Linked DNA regions of Homo sapiens: region 2 is linked to region 1. Evidence: promoter capture Hi-C in 16 types of primary human blood cells and fetal thymus (Javierre and others, 2016). All regions are on one chromosome and are shown on one strand. Each heading gives the region's core, a stretch centred on a gene start or on the middle of the fragment in contact. The rest is flanking DNA. Distances are from core to core; before and after follow the strand shown.

What was found. The method cuts DNA at HindIII sites, captures the fragments that hold promoters and counts their contacts. A CHiCAGO score of 5 or more calls a contact.
Region 2: a contact is called between a fragment that was not itself captured here and the fragment with the promoter of GREB1L in region 1, in 10 of 17 cell types (total CD8 T cells, activated CD4 T cells, naive CD8 T cells and 7 more). The highest score is 11.7, in total CD8 T cells.

Annotation. Positions count from the first base shown.
Region 1 is chr18:21,238,443-21,246,011 of GRCh38, forward strand. It overlaps GREB1L (GREB1 like retinoic acid receptor coactivator), which reads left to right and starts at 3,790. Exons shown (of 33, transcript NM_001142966.3): 1 at 3,790-3,951. It overlaps GREB1L-DT (GREB1L divergent transcript), which reads right to left and starts at 4,286. Exons shown (of 3, transcript NR_183513.1): 1 at 4,168-4,286; 2 at 2,835-2,893; 3 at 2,233-2,565. The HindIII fragment of the contact is 7,916 bases long and covers 1-6,808 here.
Region 2 is chr18:20,931,716-20,939,191 of GRCh38, forward strand. No RefSeq gene overlaps it. Among named protein-coding and RNA genes, the nearest start is that of ROCK1, 180 kb to the right of the region's middle. RefSeq lists enhancers at 1,399-2,006, 2,007-2,612, 2,613-3,220, 3,221-3,826, 3,827-4,434 and 9 more. The HindIII fragment of the contact is 5,772 bases long and covers 1-5,732 here.

The DNA.
Region 1 (7,569 bases), core at 2,540-5,039:
AGGTCAAATCAGCTATAAACCTGGCCTTTAAAATGCCTTACATGTAGGCCAGGAGTCGTGGCTTATGCCTATAATCCCAGCACTTAGGGAGGCAGAGACTGGAGGATGGCTTGAGCCCAGAAGTTTGAGACCTGCCTGGGCAACATAGCAAGACCTCGTTGTCCACAAAAAGGAAAAACAAACAAACAAAACCAAAAACAAAACAAAATCCTTAAGTATGAATGAGCCCTCAGGACTCCAAACTTATACCAGCAGGAAATGCGCTGTGAAAACTGTGAAGTCTCTGGAGGGCTTACTTCCTAGTTGCACTTCAGATATGGTCATGGAGAATAATGAACAAGGAAGAATATTCCAGAGTGTGGAGCCAAGGGCCACAGAAATAAATGCAAAGTGGTGTTCATCCTTGAGAGCAGAACCAGGATGTAATCATAGAACTTCCTCCACTGCCAAGGTGAAGGATCGTCACAGTAACTACCCAGAAGGATTCTGCCATTTATGTATGAACTCTGTTGTGAGTCTCATATTTTTCACTAAATTTAGGGTTTTAAGGCAGCGTATCTATGTAGAAACACTTGGGAATCACTGTTATGGGAGAGAGTGGAGGGATGCACAGGCAATGATCACAGTCAACATTTAATAGTGTTCCGGGCTGGGCATGGTGGCTCATACCTGTAATCCCAGCACTTTGGGAGGCTGAGGCGAGCAGATCACCAGAGGTCAGGAGTTTGAAACCAGCCTGCCAACATGGCGAAACCCCGTCTCTACTAAAAATACAAAAAATTAGCCAGGCGTGGTGGCGGGCACCTGTAATCCCAGCTACTCAGGAGGCTGAGGCAGGAGAATCGCTTGAACCTGGGAGGCAGAGGTTGCAGTGAACCGAGTTCATGCCACTACACTCCAGCCTGGGCAACAAGAGCAAAACTCTGTCTCAAAAAAAAAAAAAAAAAAAAAAAAAAAAAAAAAAGTGTTTCAGGCACTAATGCATCTTCTTTTTTTTTTTTTCTTTTTGAGACATAGTCTCACTCTGTCACCAGGCTGGAGTCAGGATTCAAAACTATGGGACCTTTTTTCAGAATGTTCACTCTGAACCCTATCATCTTTTATAATTATGGAGGTCTACTGGGCATGCTGAGGGACATAGAAATCCCAAAGGGAAGACAAGGCAGAAACACAAATTCAGGACACAGGAGTGTGAAATCTTTTTTTTTTTTTTTGAGTCGGAATTTTGTTCTTGTTGCCCAGGCTGGGGGTGCAATGGCGCAATTTGGCTCACTCCAACCTCCGCCTCCAGGATTCAAGCGATTCTCCTGCCTCAGCCTCCCAAGTAGCTGAGAATACAGGTGTGTGCCACCAACACCTAGCTAATTTTGCATTTTTAGTAGAGATGGGGTTTCACCATGTTGGTCAGGCTGGTCTCGAACTCCTGACCTCAAGTGTTCCACCTGCCTTGGCCTCCAAAGGGCTGGGATTACAGGCGTGAGACACTGTACCCGGCTGGGAGTTTGTTATCTAATGAAGATGGCATTGAACTCTTTTCAATCTACCAGGATATATAGATTACTCTCACTTTTACCCTTGTTAGGGACTTGCCTTGTTTACTGACAAATCACCACTACTACTGATATATTGTGCCGTCTAACTCACATTAGGTGCTCAATATCTGTTGAATGGATGAAGAATGAATACCAGAGTCCTGTAATATTAGACTATGGTCCTTGAGTGACTGCCAGATTTGCTTTCACATTTCTAGGGTCTAGTGTACCTGGCACTCAACAAATGGTCCTTGCACTAAGAGAGAAAACTGCACTGGTGGTTTTACTTTAAAGCGGCTCCTTGTTCAGTGTCCTTATCTTTAAATTGGAAGGTGTTTTGCTTCTGCCCAACCCCCACACACTCTACAGACCTTGTGATGGGTTGAGTTTTTCAAAAGATTCTCACCTGCTTTAACTTCTATGAGCTTAGTTTATATTCACCAGGTGAACTTAAAATTTCAGTTTCTACAGCACTGTCTTTTCCACGTGTATGGCCAGTTCTCATGATGAGTTTACTAAGTGACTTTGGATTCTTTTAGCTATTGCTAATCATCTGCACCTTTCTGTTGTAGTTATTTTAAAGCCCGCCCGCGCGCGCGCGCGCACACACACACACACACACACACACACACACACTCTTGAGTCAGGGTCTCTGTCACCCAGGCTAAAAGCGCTGGGACTACAGACATGAGCCACCGCGTGGGGCCAAAAACATACGGATTTTATTTACTAAACCTGTATTGTGTGCATGACCCAGAATTGTGGGAGTACAGCAATGACTGAGAAAGCCGTGTTTCCCACCTTCGTGGCACATAACAATGTTTCTATGGGTTTTTAAAGGCCCAACAACAGGGATTCAATTATAAAATAAAAATATTTCGGTACAAAACATGATTTAAAAAAAGACAACTATGTCTTCCGAGTGGAGGAGGGAAAGGACAATCAAACCTCGAACAAATCGTTTATCTTGCTAGTCACAGCTTAGCTATGCCTTGTTATTTTCCGGTGATTCCAAACTTCCAGTCCATTCCCTCTGCATGGATCAAAAGTGACAGGAAAGAAAAAAATGTATTTCGGATATGGCAAAAAAGAAAAATGCAAGACAAGCAAACAAAAGTACTGGGACATCGTATGAGAACTAGTTTAATTGACAATGTCTTTAAATGGTACCTATCACTTGACAATGATTCCAACCCACCCGGGCCTGGGCGCCGCGGCTGCCTCCCCACTCCCACGCACACGGGGAGCTCCCCCGGGCTGTACTGCACTAAAGGCACTCAAAATACATCAGCCTTTCCTTACCTCGATTCTTCCACCACATCCAGCATGGAGCTGCTGCTTCCAGAGATGTAGTCGCCTATCTGTGGCAACAATTAGTTTTAAAAATGGAGCCGCATCTCTAATAACAAAAGCCTCCAGCTGTGAAAAGTGGAGCTAAATCTCTCTACCGGGCCGCAGCATCTCTCAAGAACCTTTTCCCCGCAGCACCCGTCAAGGCCCAGGGCCAGCTGGACGCGGCTGCCCTGGGGTGGAGCCGTCCCCGTGGTCCCGGGAGGCTACCGACGAGCCGGGGCCCGGGGCCGGAGGGCGTGCTCCTCCGGGAGGTGCAAAAGTCGGCTTGGGCCCGGAGCTCCCGGGTTTGTTTGGTTTTGTCCGCGCCCTGCCCCCACCCTACCCCCTTCATGCAAAAGGCCAAGGGTTTCCGAGCCACCACTGCCCAGGCCGAGTTCACGCTTGGGGCTCTTCAGCCGCCGTCCAGTGAACAGAGAAAGCAATTGCGCAGAGGCGAGAGCAGGCTGAATGAACGCGGGCTCCAGGGGAAATAATTTTTCCTCCTGGCTTCGCGCGTCAGCACACTGGGGTGCAGCCCTCCCTCACAGAAGACCCCCCCCCCGCACGACCCCCTGTACACCCCCGCGGGGCTGCGCGTTCGTCTGTGCGGCGGGGTTTGGGAATGGAGGCGTGAGGACCGCGCATCGAGGGCTCCACAGGCTGGGCGGGGGGCGTCGTTGGAGGGGGGTAGGGGAGAAATGCGCGCCCACCACCCTCACAGAGGGCGAGGGACCCCCAAAAGCCACTCGCGGACGCCGAGGCAGCGGGAAGGCGCGAGGCGGGGCGGGGGGAGGGGGCGCGGGGGTCCCCGCTGCGGAGGCCAGGGCGGGCGGGAGGGGCAGCACCTGAGGAATCCGCCTCCGGCTGCGGCGGCCGCCGCCTCGCTCCGCCCCGGGGAACTGAGCGCGCGGACCGCGCGCCTGCCAGAGAGACGCCAGCCGCCGGCGGCGCTAGCACCTCGGAGTCGGGCGGCCGGAGCAGCGGAGCGCAGCGCGGCGCAGGGAACGGCACTGGGGGTGGGGAGACCAGCCCGGCCGAGCCGAGGGCCACCCCCTGGTCCTCTGCCCTCGCGCCCCGCTAGGGCCAGGTGAGCGGCCGCGGGGACTCCGGGGCGCGGGCAGGAGGTGAGAGGTCGCGAACCGGGCGCGGGAGCTCGCCTGTGACCGGCAGGAGCTGCCCTTTGGCGGGCTGGACGCCCTGGCCGCGCGGGGAAGCGCCGCAGCGGACTTTTCCGGAGGGATGGGAAGCTCAGCGGGGGTGTGAGCGGAGCGCGTGCGGGTGGCGAGGGAGCGCCAGTGCCAACCTGGGAGCCGTGCCTGCCTTCCCTGCCGCCTCGCGTCGCCCACCGAAGGGACCCGGCCGTGCTGTCCGCGCCCAGAGGCCGAAGGCCTGTCACCGGGCTCTACTCGCTGCCTTTGTGGCGGGAGCGAGACGGCCCGGGGGTGGGACGAGGGAGCTGCGGCGCGCCGAGTAGCGCGGGGTCCCCCGGCGGAGGCGGCGAGGGGGCACCTGGTTCGTCTCCCCGAGCCCAGGGGCAGTGAGGGGGTGCCGGGCAGGCGGGCGGGCGACAGGTAGGGCGCCGCGGAGGTGGCGGGGAGAGGATGGATGGAGTTCAGCCTGGGAAAGTTGAGAACGTCCAGAGGTGGCTGGGCGCTCGCTCGGCGTCTGTGGGTTTTTTTCCTCAACACCAAATGTCACTTCGTCACGAGCGGGCGCGCGTGTCTTCCGGCCAGCATGTCCATTTTTCTGTGCATGGCTGAGGACCACTCTTATTCCGAATGAGACACAAAGAGTTGTGTTGACAGCTGACCCTGACACAAGCAGACAGCGAGTGAGGTGCGCCCTGGCCGGGGAGGGTGAGGGAGACTCGTTAAAGGAAATCCATTCCCGCCGTCCCTCTTCCCAGCTCCATTAAGAGGAAACTCCATGTGGAGATTCAGTGCGTGGGGTTTCTCAGTTACATGAGTCCAAGGAACGTCCCCGAACGCGACTCGTTTGCCCGGAACTGCCGCTGCCTCTAACCGAGGCTGCGGGTCCTGGAGAAACTCCTCAGTCTTGCCCCTTTCTCCGGTGAACGTGACGGTTCCAAGGTCCTTATCCTCCCCACCCACTCCTCTGGCCCCGGCTGAGAGGATAGAAACCACATTTTAATTTCTGCTTTTCACACCGTAAGGTGTTTTTTTCCGCCTCCCCCCGCCTCGAGGCGGGAATCCCTGCTTAAATCACATTTTTAAACCTAGCCGTTTAAATACAGGGAAGAGCTTTCCCACAAAAGGTTTTTGAACTCAGTCCCCCTTAATAAAACCTCTCATTCATCTATATATGTTCTTAGACTTTAAATCCTGGAACTCTGCTTTGAGTGTTGTGACTGTGTTGTTTCTTCTCTTTGCTGAAATTTTCTAGGAGGTTTTGTGAATGATACTGAAAAATTATTTAAAAGAGAAAAAATTAAATTGTTGAAATATTTAGTAATACAGTTACATGCATATAGGTATGTATTTCAAGAGGAAAATGTTTAATGAATGAATATATAAGTAGGGTAAACATTTCAAACAACAGTGAAGAGTATACAGTGTAAATTAAGCCCTCTTTCCTCTCCTCCATACAAGCCTTCATCCTTCTCAGAGGCAGCCACTGTTGTATATTTTTTGTATATCTTTCCGTAAGTCTATTAAAATGGAATTACATTATAGATGATGAAAGGGATTGAATATAAGACTGAACTATATATTCGTGGTGATGACCATTAACTTGATACCCACTCATGATGACATGAGATTATTTAGCCAAATGTGGACAATTATTACCTTGAAGATCAGTTAGAGGGCTAAAAATCTTAGAACAGTATGCAGTGGAAAGCAAAACTATTAAACTAATATCTCCTCCTGCACACACACCAGTTTCCCTACACTGGTTTTTGCAATCTTTATTGAATTTTTCCTCCATTTTGGAATTCTTTATGAAGTAGAGAATGAGAACTGTAGTAGTTTACTTTGTCTACCGCAGTGTGTATCTGAAAACACTGAAAGGGCGTGTGTATACTCCCATTGACATGACATAATATAAAGATGTTAGTGGTAAAGGATAAATACGAAGGCCGAGTTTCAGATGTTTGGTTGCATCTCTTAATTCTAGGCCTGGATTTGCCACAAACCCGCCACACGACGTAACTTTTTTTTGGAAAACTTTGTTTCCCACTCAGTTAGATAAAGGAATTGAACTATGTGATTTTTAAGGGTCCTTCGAACTCCAGAGTTCTACGATTAAAATAGTTGTCCTAAAACTGGCTAAAGATAACCATTGGACTGTGGATGTTAGACAGTGGGGCGACAAAAAACATTCCTGAATGGTGGATTCATGAAGAGGAGGTTAGAGATGTTTAAACTATATCCCTGCTCTTACGAGTTTGATGTCATTGGAGAACAGCTACTCTCCTTACCCACAGAATGTGTGTTTATGTTGCTGATAGAGGCCAAACACCGGGCTGAGGGCCTCTCATGTCACCTTGTGTGGCTAAGGAGAGTGAATTCTCCTCGCAGCCCACAGTGTCATTTTTAGGAAAATTACTCTTACCAAACTCTTCTTTTTGGTAAAGTGGAAATTAACTTTACCTACTTGAAAGAGACTTGACATAATTTAATTTATACTTCTCTGAAGTGTTTAGATTATGAACATCCCTTATAGCTAAGATATTTTAGTTACTTGATAAATATTCACCTAGGGAGTATGTTCTTATTAGGAAACTTCTAATTTGTAAAGTACCTGCAGCCTTTGGGCTAATGATGGGGACAGGAGTTAAGGAGTGATTGTAAGGTTGTGAAAGTAAAAATTAGCTGATTTTAGTGACTGCGTATGGTCTAAATTAAGGGATTTCAAAGGTACACTGTAAGCGATGATTGCAAAAAGTGTTGATGTTAAGATAGAGATCTCATACTGAAAGCTAAAGCTTTCTAAAAGCACCGCTGATGAAACATATGTAATTATTTTGAATAAGTCTAATATAAATTATAAATTCGCTGTAGGAATTGTTTGGGATCCTAAGAATAAGAACTAGAAGAATATATTTGTAAGGGTACTTAGAGTAATATTGATTGATTAATGAAGCTGACAGAAACAAAAGAAAATTCAATACCAGTAGTGAAATTCTTCAAAATGGTAATGGTTTTTATTTTTTCCAGCTCCCTTCCCAATCTTGCCATATGAATGAATATTTTTACAAATGTTTTATATTGCAGATAATTTTCACCCTGTTTTTTATAAACATTTTTTCTATAGCTTACTTCCCATTATTTACAATAATTTTATAAAAGTTTATGCAATGGATGTTCATTATTAACTTAAGCCTTCCTGTTTTTGATTTTGCAGCATAAAAAATGTAATGCCTATTCTTTTTTTGTTTTGTTTTGTTTTGTTTTGTTTTGTTTTGTTTGAGACGAAGTCTTGCTTTGCCACCCAGGCTGGAGTGCAGTGGTGCGATCTCCACTCACTGCAAGCTCCGCCTTCCGGGTTCACGCCATTCTCCTGCCTCAGCCTCCCTAGCAGCTGTGACTACAGGCGCCTGCCACCACGCCTGGCTAATTTTTTGTATTTTTAGTAGAGATGGGGTTTCACTGTGTTGCAGGATGGTCTCGATCTCATCGATCTCGACCTCGTGATCTGCCCGCCTCAGCCTCCCAAAGTGCTGGGATTACAGGCGTGAGCCACC
Region 2 (7,476 bases), core at 1,597-4,096, 310 kb before region 1:
CATTCCCTTTCGTAGAGCAGGTTTCAGACACTCTTTCTGTAGTATCTGGAAGTGGACATTTCGAGTGTTTTCAGGCCTATGGTGAACAAGGAAATATCTTCCCATAAAAACCAGACACAAGCATTTGCAGAAACTTGTTTGTGATGCGTGTCCTCAACTCACAGAATAGAACATTTCGTTTGACAGAGCAGCTTGGAAACACGCTTTTTGTAGAATCTGCAATTGGATATTTGGATAGCTTTGTGGATTTCTTTGGAAACGGGAGTATCTTCATATAAAACCTAGACGGAAACATTCTCAGAAACTCCTTTGTAATGTCTGCATTCACGTCACAGATTTGAACATTCCCTTTCATAGAGCAGGTTTGAAACACTCTTTCCGAAGTATCTGGATGTGGACACTTGGAGCGCTTTGACGCTTACGGTGAAAAGGAAATAACTTCCCATGAAAACTAGACAGAAGCATTCTCACAAACTGGTGTGTGATGTATGTCCTCAGCTAACAGAGTTAAACCTTTCTATTTACAGAGCAGTTTTCAAAGACTCTTTTTGGAGAATCTGCAAGTGGATATCTGGAGATCTTTAAGGATTTCATTGGAAACCGGAATATCTTCAGGTAAAATCTAGACAGAGGCATTCTCAGAAACTTCTTCGTGATGTGCGTCCTCAACTAACAGAGTACAACCTGTCTTTTGATACATCAGTTTGGAAACACTCTTTTTGTAGAATCTGGAAGTGGATATTTCGATAGCTCTAACGATTTTGTTGAAAACGGGAATAGCTTCATATAAAATCTAGGCAGAGGCACTCTCAGAAACTAATTTTGTGAGATCTGCATTCAAGTCACAGAGTTGAACATTCCCTCTCGTAGATCTGGTTTGAAACACTCTTTTTTTGTATCTGGAAGTGGATCTTTGGAGCTCTTTGACGACTTTGGTGAAAAAGGAAATATGTCCCCATAAAAACTACACCAAAGCATTCTCAGAAACTTGTTTGTGTTGTGTGTACTCATCTGACAGAGTTGAACGTTTCTTTTTACACAGCAGTTTTGAAACACTCTTTTTGTAGAATCTGCAAGTGGATAATTGGATGACTTTAAGGATTTCGTTGGAAACGGGACTATATTCATGTAAAATCTACACAGAAGCATTCTCAGAATCTTCTTTGTGATGTGTGTCCTCAACTAACAGAGTTCAACCTTTCTTTTGATACAGCAGTTTGGAAACACTCTTTTTGTAGAATCTTCAAGTGGATATTTGGATAGCTCTAACGATTTCGTTGGAAACGGGAATGTCTTCATATAAAATCTGTACAGAAGCACTCTCAGGAGCTACTTTGTGATATCTGCATTCAGGTCACAGAGTTGAACATTCCCTTTCTTAGAGCACGTTTGAAACACACTTTTTGTAGTATCTGGAAGTGGACATTTGGAGCGCTTTCACGCCTTTGGTGAAAAAGGAAATGTCTTCCCATAAAAACTAGACAGAAGCATTCTAAGAAACTTCTTTGTGATATATGCACTCAACTAACCGAGTTGAACCTTTCTCTTTATAGATCAGTTTGAAATGCTCTTTTTGTGGAATCTGCAAGTGGATATTTGGATAGCTCTGAGGATTTCGTTGGAATCGGGATTACATATAAAATATAGACAGCAGCATTCTCAGAAGCTCCTTGTGATGTTTGCTTTTAAGTCACAGAGTTGAACATTCCCTTCCATAGAGCAGTTTTGAAACACTCTTTCTGTAGTATCTCTAAGTGGACATTTCGAGCGATGTCAGGCCTATGTTGAAAAAGGAAATAACTTCCCATAAAAAGTAGACAGAAGCATTCTCAGAAACTTATTTGTGATGGGTGTCCTCAACTAACAGAGTTGAACGTTTCTTTTGATACAACAGTTTAGAAACACTCTTTTTGTAGTATCTGCAAGCGGATATTTCGATAACTTTGAAGATTTCGTTGGAAACGGGAATATCTTCATATACAATCTAGACAGAGGCACTCTCAGAAACTGCTTTGTGATGTCTGCATTCAAGTCACAGAATTGAACATTCTCTTTCATCGAGCACGTTTGTAACACCGTTTCTGTAGTATCTGGATGTGGACATTTGAGCGCTTTGACGCGTACGGTGACATAGGAAATATCTTCCCTTAAAAACTAGACAGAAGCCTTCTCACAAACTGCTTTGTGATGTATGTCCTCCACTAACAGAGTTGAACCTTTCTATTTACAGGGCAGTTTTGAAAGACTCTTTTTGTAGAATCTGCAAGCGGATATTTGGATACCTTTAAGTAGATTTCATTGGAAACGGAAAAGTCATTCTCAGAAACTTCTTTGTGATATGTGTCCCCACCTAACAGAGTACAACCTGTCTTTGGATACAGCAGTTTGGAAACACTCTTTTTGCAGAATCTGCAAGTGGATATTTGGATAGCTCTGACGATTTCCTTGGAAACGGGAATATCTTCATATAAAATCTAGACAGAAGCACTCTCAGGAGGTACTTTGTGATATCTGCATTCAAGTCACAGAGTTGAACATTCCCTTTCATAGAGCTGGTTTGAAACACTCTTTTTGTTGTATCTGGAAATGGATCTTTGGAGCGCTTTGCCGACTTTGGAGAAAAAGGAAATATCTTCCCATAAAAACTAGACAGAAGCATTCTCAGAAACTTGTTTGTGATGTGTGTACTCAACTGACAGAGTTGAACGTTTCTTTTTACACAGCAGTTTTGAAACACTCTTTTTGTAAAATCTGCAAGTGGATAATTGGATGGCTTTAAGGATTTCCTTGGAAACGGGACTATATTCATGTAAAATCTACACAGAAGCATTCTCAGAAACTTCTTTGTGATGTGTGTCCTTAACTAACAGAGTTCAACCTTTCTTTTGATACAGCAGTTTCGAAACACTCCTTTTGTAGAATATGCAAGTGGATATTTGGATAGCTCTAACGATTTCATAGGAAATGGGAATACCTTCATATAAAATCTAGACAGAGGCACTCTCAGAAACTGCTTTGTGATATCTGCACTCAAGTCACAGAGTTGAACATTCCCTTTCTTAGAGCAGGTTTGAGACACTTTGTAGTATCTGGAAGTGGACATTTTTAGCGCTTTGACGCCTTTGGTGAAAAAGGAAATGTTTTCCCATAAAAACTAGACAGAAGCATTCTAAGAAACTTCTTTGGGATATATGTACTCAACTAACAGAGTTGAACCTTTCTATTTATAGGTCAGTTTTGAGAAGCTCTTGTTGTGGAATCTGCAAGTGGATATTAGGATAGCTCTGAGGATTTCCTTGGAAACGGGATTACATATAAAAAGTAGACAGCAGCATTCTCAGAACCTTCTTTGTGATGTTTGCTTTTAAGTCACAGAGTTGAATATTCCCTTACATAGAGCAGGTTTGAAACACTATTTCTGTAGTATCTGGACATGGACATTTCGAGCGATTTCAGGCCTATGTTGAAAACGGAAATATCTTCCCATAAATACTAGACAGAAGCATTCTCAGAAATTTCTTTGTGATGTGTGTCCTCAACTAACAGAGTTCATCCTTTCTTATGATACAGCAGTTTTGAAACACTCTTTTTGTAGAATATGTAAGTGGATAGTTGGATAGCTCTCATTATTTCATTGGAAACGGGAGTATCAACATAGAAAACCTAGACAGAAAAATTCTCAGAAACTGCTTTATGATGTCTGCATTCACGTCACAGAGTTGATCATTCCCTTTCATAGAGCAGGTTTGAAACACTATTTCTGTAGTATGTGGACATGGACATTTCGAGCGATTTCAGGCCTATGTTGAAAACGGAAATATCTTCCCATAAAAACTAGACAGAAGCATTCTCAGAAATTTCTTTGTGATGTGTGTCCTCAACTAACAGAGTTCATCCTTTCTTATGATACAGCAGTTTGGAAACACTCTTTTTGTAGAATATGTAAGTGGATAGTTGGATAGCTCTCACTATTTCGTTGGAAACGGGAGTATCAACATAGAAAACCTAGACAGAAACATTCTCAGAAACTGCTTTATGATGTCTGCATTCACGTCACAGAGTTGATCATTCCCTTTCATAGAGCAGGTTTGAAACCCTCTTTCCGTAGTATCTGGATGTGGACACTTGGAGCGCTTTGACGCTTACGGTGCAAAAGGAAATATCTTCCCATAAAAACTAGACAGAAGCATTCTCACAAACTGGATTGTGATGTTTGTCCTCAACTAACAGAGTTGAAACTTTCTATTTACAGAGCACTTTTGAAAGACTCTTTTTGGAGAATCTGCAAGTGGATATTTGGAGAGCTTTAAGGATTTCATTGGAAACGGGAATATCTTCATATAAAATCTAGACAGAGGCATTCTCAGAAACTTCTTTGTGATGTGTGTCCTCAACCAACGGAGTACATCCTGTCTTTTGATACAGCAGTTTGGAAACACTCTTTTTGTAGAATCTGCAAGTGGATATTTGGATAGCTCTAACGATTTCGTTGGAAACGGGAATATCTTCATAAAAAATCTAGACAGAAGCACTCTCAGAAACTACTTTGTGATATCGGCATTCAAGTCACAGAGTTGAACATTCCCTTTCATGGAGCAGGTTTGAAACACTCTTTTTGTAGTATCTGGAAGTGGACCTTTGGAGCCCTTTAATGATTTTGGTGAAAAAGGAAATATCTTCCCATAAAAACGAGACAGAAGCATTCTCAGAAACTTGTTTGTGATTTGTGTACTCAACTAACAGAGTTGAACCTTTCTTTTTACAGAGCCGTTTTGAAACACTCTTTTTGTAGAATCTGCAAGTGCATATTTGAATGGCTTTAAGGATTTCGTTGGAAATGGCAATATCTTCATGTAAAACCTACACAGAAGCATTCTCAGAAACTTCTTTGTGATGTGTGTCCTCAACTAACAGAGTTGAACCTTTCTTTTGACAGAGCAGTTTTGAAACACTCTTTTTGTAGGATCTGCAAGTGGATATTTGGATAGCTTAGAGGATTTCCTGGGAAATGGGAATATATTCATATGAAATCTAGACAGAAGCATTCTCAGAAACTTCTTTGTGATCTTTTCATTCAACTCGTAGAGTTGAACATTCCCTTTCATAGAGCCAGTTTGAAACACTCTTCTTGTAGTATCGGGAAGTGGACATTTGGAGCGCTCTGACGCCTATGGTGAAAATGGAAATATCTTCCCATAAAAACTAGACAGAAGGATTCTCAGAAACATGTTTGTGATGTATGTACTCAGCTAAGAGAGTGGAACCTTTCTTTTTACAGAGCAGCTTTGATACACTATTTTTGTAGAATCTGCAATTTGATATTTTGATTGCTTTAAAGATATCGTTGGAAACAGGAATATCTTCATATAAAATCTAGACAGAAGCACTCTCGGAAACGACTTTGTGATATCTGCATTCAAGTCTCAGAGTTGAACGTTCCCTTTCTTAGAGCAGGTTTGAAACACTCTTTTTGTAGTATCTGGAAGTGGACATTTGGAGCGCTTTGACGCCTTTGGTGAAAAAGGAAATGTCTTCCCATAAAAACTAGACAGAAGCATTCTAAGAAACTTCTTTGGGATATATGTACTCAACTAACAGAGTTGAACCTTTCTATTTATAGATCAGTTTTGAAACGCTCTTTTTGTGGAATCTGCAAGTGGATATTTGGATGGCTTTGAGGATTTCGTTGGAAACGGGATTATATATAAAAAGTAGACAGCAACATTCTCAGAAGCTTCTTTGTGATGTTTGCTTTTAAGTCACAGGTTTGAACATTCCCTTTCATAAAGCAGGTTTGAAACACTCTTTCTGTAGTATCTGGAAGTGGACATTTTGAGCGCTTTCTGGCCTATGTTGAAAAAGGAAATATCTTTCCATAAAAAGTAGACAGAAGCATTCTCAGAAACTTATTTGTGATGTGTGTCCTCAACTAACAGAGCTGTACCTTTCTTTTGATACAGCAGTTTGGAAACACTCTTTTTGTAGAATTTGCAAGTGGATATTTGGATAACTTCGAAGATTTCGTTGGAAACGGGAATATCTTCATATAAAATCTAGACAGAAGCATTCTCAGAAACTGCTTTTTGATGTCTGCATTCAAGTCACAGAGTTGAACATTCCCTTTCATCTAGCCGGTTTGAAACACTCTTTTTGTAGTATCTGGATGTGGACATTTTGAGCGCTTTGACGCCTACAGTGAAAAAGGAAATATCTTCCCATAAAAAGTAGACAGAAGCATTCTCAGAAACTTGTTTGTGATGTATGTCCTCAACTAACAGAGTTGAACAATTCTTTTTACAGAGCAGTTTTGAAACACTCTTTTTGTAGAATCTGCAGGTGGATATTGGGATAGCTTTAAGGATTTCATTGGAAACGGGAATATCCAAATATCAACTTGCAGATTCTACAAAAATAGTGTATCAAAGCTGCTCTGTAAAAAGAAAGGTTCCACTCTGTTAGCTGAGTACACACATCACAAACATGTTTCTGAGAATCCTTCTGTGTAGTTTTTATAGGAAGATATTTCCTTTTTCAGCATAGGCATCAGAGCGCTCCAAATGTCCACTTCCCGGTAGTACAAGAAGAGTGTTTCAAACCGGCTCTATGAAAGGGAATGTTCAACTCTACGAGTTGAATGAAAAGATCACAAAGAAGTTTCTGAGAATGCTTCTGTCTAGATTTTATATGTATATATTCCCGTTTCCAACGAAATCCTCTAAGCTATCCAAATATCCACTTGCAGATTCCGCAAAAAGAGTGTTTCAAAACTGCTCTGTCAAAAGAAAGGTTCAATTCTGTTAGTTGAGTACAAACATCACAAAGAAGTTTCTGAGAATGCTTCTGTCTAGTTTTTATGGGAAGATATTTCCTTTTTCACCATGGGCCTCAAAGTGCTTCAAACGTCCACTTCCAGATACTACAAAAAGAGTGTTTCAAACCTGCTCTATGAAAGAGAATGTTCAATTCTGTGACTTGAAGGCAGACATCACAAAGCAGTTTCTGAGAATGCTTCTGTCGAGATTATATACGAAGATACTCCCGTTTCCAACGAAATCCTAAAATCTATCCAAATATCCACTTGCAGATTCTACAAAAAGAGTGTTTCAAAACTGCTCTGTGAAAAGAAAGCTTCAACTCTGTTAGCTGAGTACACACATCACAGACAAGTTTCTGAGAATGCTTCTGTCTATTTTTTATGGGAAGATATTTCCTTTTTCACCATAGGCGTCAAAGCGCTCGAAATGTCCACTTCCACATACTACAAAAAGAGTGTTTCAAACCTTCTCTATGAAAGGGAATGTTCAACTCTATGAGTTGAATGCAAACATCAGAACGAAATTTCTGAGAATGCTGCTGTCCACTTTTTATATGAATGCGCGCTTTCAACGAAATCCTCAAAGCAATCCAAATATCCACTTGCAGATTCCACAAAAAGAGTGTTTCAAAACTCCTCTATCAATAGAAAGTTTCAACTCT